Linked DNA regions of Homo sapiens: region 2 is linked to region 1. Evidence: promoter capture Hi-C in human tissues and cell types (Jung and others, 2019). All regions are on one chromosome and are shown on one strand. Each heading gives the region's core, a stretch centred on a gene start or on the middle of the fragment in contact. The rest is flanking DNA. Distances are from core to core; before and after follow the strand shown. Region 1 holds the start of ZBTB21 (zinc finger and BTB domain containing 21). Region 2 holds the start of LOC124905031 (a long non-coding RNA gene).

Region 1 (3,349 bases), core at 850-3,349:
GTAACTGAAGCAATCACTGCTGAAGCAATTGGAAGCGTGTCACAAATCAAAGAGAGCAACTGAAAGATGCAACGGTTTCTGCCAGATTTGGCAGTCAGGTCAATTCCAGTGAAATGGTGAGGCCAAAAGCCTGATCATATAGCTCAAAGCAGAGACACCAATGTGTATCGTCCTGAGGAAGGTTGAAAAAACAAAAAACAAAACAAAACAAAAAAACAGCTAAGCAGGTGGCTAGAAAGGGATCGCTCAAGGGAGGCTGCTTCCAGCATGCGGTAAAGCCAGTACTAGTTTTCTCACCTATAAAACTAGGATAACAGCACACACTCCCCCAGCCTAATCACAGGGGAACCTAAAACTCAAGGTTCTTTTAAGACTTATAATCACTGTTGCCTTCTACCTTCAGAACAGTCACTTTGTGCTTTTCCACCATACAGTTCAAAATACAGACACTCTTTAGGCTGGGCATGGTGGCTCACACCTGTTATCCAAGCACATTGGGAGGCTGAGGCGGGTGGATTGCTTCAGACCAGGAGTTTGAAACCAGCCTGAGCAACATGGTGAAACTCCATCTCTACCAAAAATACAAAAATCAGCTAGGTGTGACGGATGCACCTATAGTCCCAGCTACTGCCGAGGCTGAGACGGGAGGATGGCTTGAGCCAGGGAGTGGAGGCTGCAGTGAGCTGAGATCATGCCACTGCACTCCAGCCTGGGACTGACAGAGACTCCATCTCAGGAAAAAAAAAAAAAAATTTAAAGTGTTTTAAAGTTGTAGGAGAAAATTTTTAGGTGCAAGATTCTTTATGTAAGACTAAGAGTCCTCTTAAAATTAGTCAAACTAATAATCTACAACAGAGCTGTTAATTTGGCAACAAATTTTTAATTTGTATCAATCTAATGTCTGTCTTTCACATACTTCCAAACATTACATAAATTATTTTACCTAGTGCATACAACTTTCAAAAACTGTATTTGGCAATTAACAGACCCCTGACAATTATTAACAGGGGTTTTACATCCCGGAGTTTGAGTGTCTGCGGGAGAACCGTCCCTGCAGGAGGCACTCCCCCTCCACCTGCGACCCGGGCTGGGAGAACGCGCGGAGGGCTCCCTTGAGCGGTCTCCGCCAGCGAGGCTTTCCTCCCGGTCGGTGTTGACAGTGTGGCATTTCTGTTATCTAATTTCTGGTTTTGACTGAAAGCGAAGTGAGTTTTCTCATCAGTGGAGTTGTAATATTTCTGCAAAAAAAAAAAAGATCACAGCCCTCCGATGAGCCGGGCACTATGCGAAGTCTCCGGCTGCCTGCGGGCCGCTGTGGACGCCCCGGCGGGGGTCAGGACCGACCCCCATCTGCGCGGCGAACGAGCCCGGACGCCCTGGCCGCGGCCGCCGGGTCCCCGCCCAGGGGCCAGGTGGCCAGGTTGCGTCGGGAGGAGGAAATGGAAGCGCTCTGAGCGACTAGCGAGCGGCAGGAGCCGCCTCCCGCGGGCTTTCCTCGCGGGCCGGGAGCGTCTGCCGCCGACCCGAGGACCGCAGGGCCCCGCTCGCCGCCCGCGCCCGTCAGAAAGCCGCGCGTCGCTCCCGTCGCTGTCGGGGTCGTCGGCTCGGGGAGTCGCCCGCCGTCCACCGGTGAACGGGAGCGCGTCCTCCCCTCCGAGGGACTAAGCGCTCGCGCCACGCATCCCGCCGCGCCGGAAGCGGGGACTACTGGCGGCCCAGCTGGGCAGGACCGCGGCCGAATGACCCGGGGCGACCCCGCAGCAAGGGCGCCTCCGGCAGGCGGCAAAGTCCCCTGAGAATCGGCGCGCTCCTCGCCGCGACGGACTCCACCCGGCCGGGGCGCTCAGCCTCCTCGCCGTGGCCCCCAGCCCGGCCGCCTCCCCTAACGGCCGCCGCAGGCTCCCCTCATGGACCGAGAGCGCGGGCTTGCAGCGCGGCAGCGTCCGTTCGGCGCGCGGCTCCGGGCAGGCCCGCCCTCCCCCGTCCCCCTGCGCCGCGAGGCCCCCCCCCCGCCCCGCCCTCCGGCGCCCGGCGCCCAATCAGAGTGCCGCGCACGTGACGAGCGATGCCTGCGATGACCTCATCCCTGGTGTGGGATGACGTCAAATTCAAGATGGATGGAATCACAGCGGCAGCGGCGGCTGCGGCGCGCGCGAGCCGAGTGTGAGCGGAAAGGGGCCCGGCGTCTGCCTCGAGACTGAAGACCGGTGAGTAACTGTCACGCCCCTAGCTCTAGGAGAACTGCGGGGCTCCTTGGGAGGCTACAGCCTCCCCGCAAAACGCGGCCTTTCCTGACGTAACTCTGAGGTGATTTCTCTCCTCTTTTTTCTCCACCAGCGGGTTGCGGGCTCCGAGCGCTTCTGCGCGTGCGCGGGACCTGGGCGCTCACCGAGCATGTCCCGGGTTCCCACGTAGCCGATTGTACCTTCACACTGCGCACGCTCCCTGCCAGCACTTGGCCTCGCCCTCGCGAATGCGCATGCTCCATTCCCTCACGGGCTTCACTCTTCACCCTGGCCGAGCTGCCCCTGGGGTAGGGGACACGCCTGGCCCAGGCGCGCGCCCCTCGCGCGGAGCGGTTGAAACGCCTCGTGGAGAAGGGCGCGTTCTCCTGTTCCGGGCAGGGGTTGGGGGCCGGCGGCCCGGGCCGCGGGGTGTGCGCGGAAGCTGGCCGGCGGCCTTGGGGACCCCGCACCTGCCGCGACCCGCCGCTCCCTTCACGGTCCGGGACCTAGCCCCGCCGCCCCGTCCTCGGCCCGGTGGCCGGAGCGTGACCGCTCGGTGCCCGCTGGACGCTCCCTCCCCGCCCCCGGCCCCTCCCGCGGACGCCTGGACCTCACAGCGCGTTTTTTTTCCTCCAGAGCCCCCGCAGACCTTGTCTGGGACTTCCCGGCGGTCCCGCAGAGCATAGCACCCTCCGCCGGCCAGGAGCCCTGCTGCTCGGCCGGCGACCGTCTCCCCGCTTGGAGGAGCCCCCTTCCCCCCGTCCGAGGTCCGCGGCTGGAGGGGCAGGGAGTCAAGACGCCACCCGTGCCGGCCTTAGAGACGCCCGCGGCAGCCCCGCCACATCTCTTCCCGGCTTTTCGGGAACACGCCCCGTAGTCCATCCTCAGCGGCTCCTGCTTTTCCATCCCAGCACACCGCTGGGGGCTCGCACTCTGCCCCCGGTTGCTATGCGGTCCCAGCCACGAGGGCTCTGCGGTTCGGGAGAATTCCGCAAGAGCGCGCGTTCGGAGGCGGGGTGTTTTTAGACAGGTGCCCCGGTGGGATTGCCTGACCGAGAGGACGGGGAAAGTTAGACTTCACACGGCCTGGGGTTTTTCCTTTCGTGCAAGCGCTCACAGCCCTG
Region 2 (3,429 bases), core at 92-2,591, 1.7 Mb before region 1:
GAGCACAGAAGAGCACTATAAACGGCTGTTTTCCTTGTATGACCAAAGTCTCAGGGTTAGCGAGTTTGGTGTCAAGCCAGGTAGTGGCGTGGGGTGTGTGATCCGTGGAAGGCATGAGAGAATGCTCTAGTGGGGGGTTAACCGAGCCAGCCCGTCCCTACTCTGTCTCAGGTATGACTGTGTAAATAAATGTCCGTCCACACCCTGGCGGCAAATGAAATGCCCTTGCCAGCAGACCATGCCCAGAGGTTGTTTGAGCAACTGCCTCCCAGCACCACAGGGTTCCTTAATTACCATAAAGGATGTTAAAAGTCATTCAGGATTTGTGTTTGGCCAGAAGTTTGAGCGGTGTCTCTTTTTTTTTTCTTTCTTTCTTTTTTTTTTTTTTTTTGAGACGGAGTTTCGCTCTTGTTGGGCAGAGGCTGGAGTGCAATGGCGTGATCTCGGCTCACCGCAACCCTCGCCTCCCGGGTTCAAGTGATTCTCCTGCCTCAACCTTCTGAGTAGCCGGGATTATAGGCATGTGCCACCACGCCCAGCTAATTTTTTTTTTGTATTTTTGGTAGAGATGGGGTCTCCGTGTTGGTCAGACTGATCTTGAACTCCCGACCTCAGGTGACCCACCTGCCTCGGCCTCTCAAAGTGCTGGGATTATAGGTGTGAGCCACTGTGCCCGACCCTGAGCGGTGTCTTAGTTAGCGGGGGATGCTTTAACAAAATGCACAAAGTAACAAAAGAGCCAAGCCATGAAAGAGAAAGCAACAGGAGAAGCAAGGAAAGCACAGATTTACTGAAGACATTTCAGAGTGGGAGCAGGCTCAAGCAAGCGGCTCAGGTGCCTCTTCTTTTGGGTTTTTGTTTTGTTTTGTTTTTTGAGACCGAGTCTCTGTCGCCCAGGCTGGAGTGCCAGTGGTACGATCTCGGCTCACTGCAAGCTCCGCCTCCCGGGTTCACGCCATTCTCCTGCCTCAGCCTCCCGAGTAGCTGAGACTATAGGCACCCACTGCCACGCCTGGCTAATTTTTTTGTATTTTCAGTAGAGATGGGGTTTCACCGTGTTAGCCAGGATGATCTCGATCTCCTGACCTCGTGATCCGCCCGCCTCGGCCTCCCAAAGTGCTGGGATTACAGGCGTGAGCATGAATTTCTTCTTTACATGTAGCTTCCAGTACCCAGATCACATGATTTTTGATGGAAGTCCAGTGTGATCCGTATTCTTGTTCCTCTATAGGAAGGTACTTTCCCTCCGACATCTTTCAAGATATTCTGTCTCTGGTTTCCTGCAGTTTGAATACGACATGCCAAAGTTCCTATTTTTTGGCATTTGTTGTACTTAGTGTTCTCTAAGCTTCCTAGATCTGTGGTTTGGTGTCTGACACCAATTTTGAAAAATGAGAAGCCATTATTACTTCAAATATTTCTTCTATCCCTTTCTCCCTCTCCTCTTCTGGTATTGCCATTATGAGTGTGTAAATTACCTTCTATAATTGTCCCGTAGTTCTAGGATATTCTGTTCAGTTATTTTTACTCTTTTTTCTCCTTGCATTTCAGTTGGGGAAGTCTATGGACATGTCCTCAGCTTGCAGATTCTCTCCTGGGCTGTGTCCAGTCCACTGACGTCCGAGGCACAATCCCCCGTGTGACCCTGCCTGGCGGCGGCCTCTTGTTAGAGCTGTAAGTCACACAGGCTTCTGCCTGTCCTCTAGCTGAGTGTCACTGTATTGCGTCCCACCACCAAAAGAATCTTTAGATCTTATAAAACATCAATACACAGGCTTCTGCCTCTCCTCTAGCTGAGTGTCACTGTATTGCGTCCCACCACCAAAGGAATCTTTAAATCGTACAAAACATCAATAAAGGATTTGAGTCCTAAATATACAAGGATTTCTTTCTTTCTTTCCTCTCTTTCTTTCTCTCTCTCTTTCTTTCCTTCTCTCTTTTCTTTCTTTCCCTTCCTTCCTTTGTTTTCTCTCCTCTGTTTCTCCCTTTCTCTCTTTCTCTTTCGTCTTGCTGTTGCCCAGGCTGGAGTGCAGTGGCGTGATCTTGGCCCACTGACACCTCCACTTCCCAGGTTCAAGTGATTCTCCTGCCTCGGCCTCCCGAGTAGCTGGGATTACAGGCGCCTGCCACCACACCCGGCTAATTTTTGTATTTTTAGTAGAGATGGGGTTTTATCATGTTGGCCAGGCTGGTCTCGAACTCCTGACCTCAAGTAATCCGCCCGCCTCAGCCTCCCAAAGTGCTGGGATTACAGGCATGAGCCACTGCGCCCAGCCTTTTTTCCTTTTTTTTTTTTTAAATAGGGTCTTGCTCTACCACCCAGGCTGGAGTGCAGTACAGTAGCACACATCAGCTCACTGCAACCTCTGTCCCCTGGGCTAAAGTGATCCTCCCGCCTTAGCCTCCTGAGTAGCGGGTACTACAGGCGTGTGTCACCATGCCGGGCTAATTTTTGTACTCTTTTTTTATTTTGTAGAGAAGAGGTCTCACCATGTCGCCCAAGCTGGTCTCAAACTCCTGAGCTCAAGTGATCTGCCTGCCTCGGCCTCCCAAAGTGCTCAGATTACGGGTGTGAGCCACCACAACTGGCGAAAGAATTCTTAAAACTCAACAATAAGGGAACAACCTAACCAAAAAATAGGCAAAAGATCTAGACACCTCACCAAAGAAGATATACAAATGGCAAATACACATATGGAAAGTTCTGAACGCCATGCCATGAGAAAAGTACAAATTCAAACAATGAAACATCGCTAAGCACTGCTTACAATGGCTGAAGTCCAGAACACTGACAACACTGGGTGCTGGCGGGACATGGCACTCTCCTTCATTGCTGGTGGGAACACTGTAATGGTGTAGCCACTTTGGAAGGCACTTTGGTGGTTTCTTAGAAAGTAAACATCTTGGCCGGGCGTGGTGGCTCACGCCTGTAATCCCAGCACTTTGAGAGGCCGAGGTGGGGGCGGATCACCTGAGGTCAGGAGTTTGAGACCAGCCTGGCCAACATGGTAAAACCCCATCTCTACTAAAAATACAAAAATTAGCCTGGCATGGTGGCAGGCACCTGTAATCCCAGCTACTCGGGAGGCTGAGGCTGGAGAATCGCTTGGACCCAGGAGGCAGAGGTTGCAATGAGCAGAGATCATGCCACTGCACGAGTGAAATTCCGTCTCATTAAAAAAAAAAGAAAGAAAGAAAAAAGAAACTAAACATCTTACCTTATAATTCAGCAGTTGCACTCCTTGATCTTTACCCAAAGGGTTAAAAACTTATGTCTACACAAAACCCTGCACACCAATGTTTATAGCAGCTTTAGTAATTGTCAAAAACTGGAAGCCACCAAGGTGTCTCTCAGTAGGTGAATGAATAGACAAACTGTAGTGTACATTTGCAATGGAATATTATACAGCAATGAAAAAGAGTGAGCCA

What was found. The method cuts DNA at HindIII sites, captures the fragments that hold promoters and counts their contacts. A contact is called where the count stands out against the background at its distance.
Region 2: a fragment that was not itself captured here is called in contact with the fragment with the promoter of ZBTB21 in region 1 in 1 of the 25 tissues and cell types used here (dorsolateral prefrontal cortex).

Annotation. Positions count from the first base shown.
Region 1 is chr21:42,009,110-42,012,458 of GRCh38, reverse strand. ZBTB21 (zinc finger and BTB domain containing 21) reads left to right here and starts at 2,099. Exons shown (of 3, transcript NM_001098402.2): 1 at 2,099-2,207. It overlaps ZNF295-AS1 (ZNF295 antisense RNA 1), which reads right to left and starts at 3,265. Exons shown (of 2, transcript NR_119384.1): 1 at 2,875-3,265. RefSeq lists silencers at 1,287-2,026, 2,467-2,776, 2,817-2,926. The HindIII fragment of the contact is 7,901 bases long and covers 1-3,349 here.
Region 2 is chr21:43,709,161-43,712,589 of GRCh38, reverse strand. It overlaps LOC124905031 (a long non-coding RNA gene), which reads left to right and starts at 315. Exons shown (of 2, transcript XR_007067895.1): 1 at 315-1,235; 2 at 1,552-1,874. RefSeq lists enhancers at 1-502, 568-1,449. The HindIII fragment of the contact is 7,963 bases long and covers 1-3,429 here.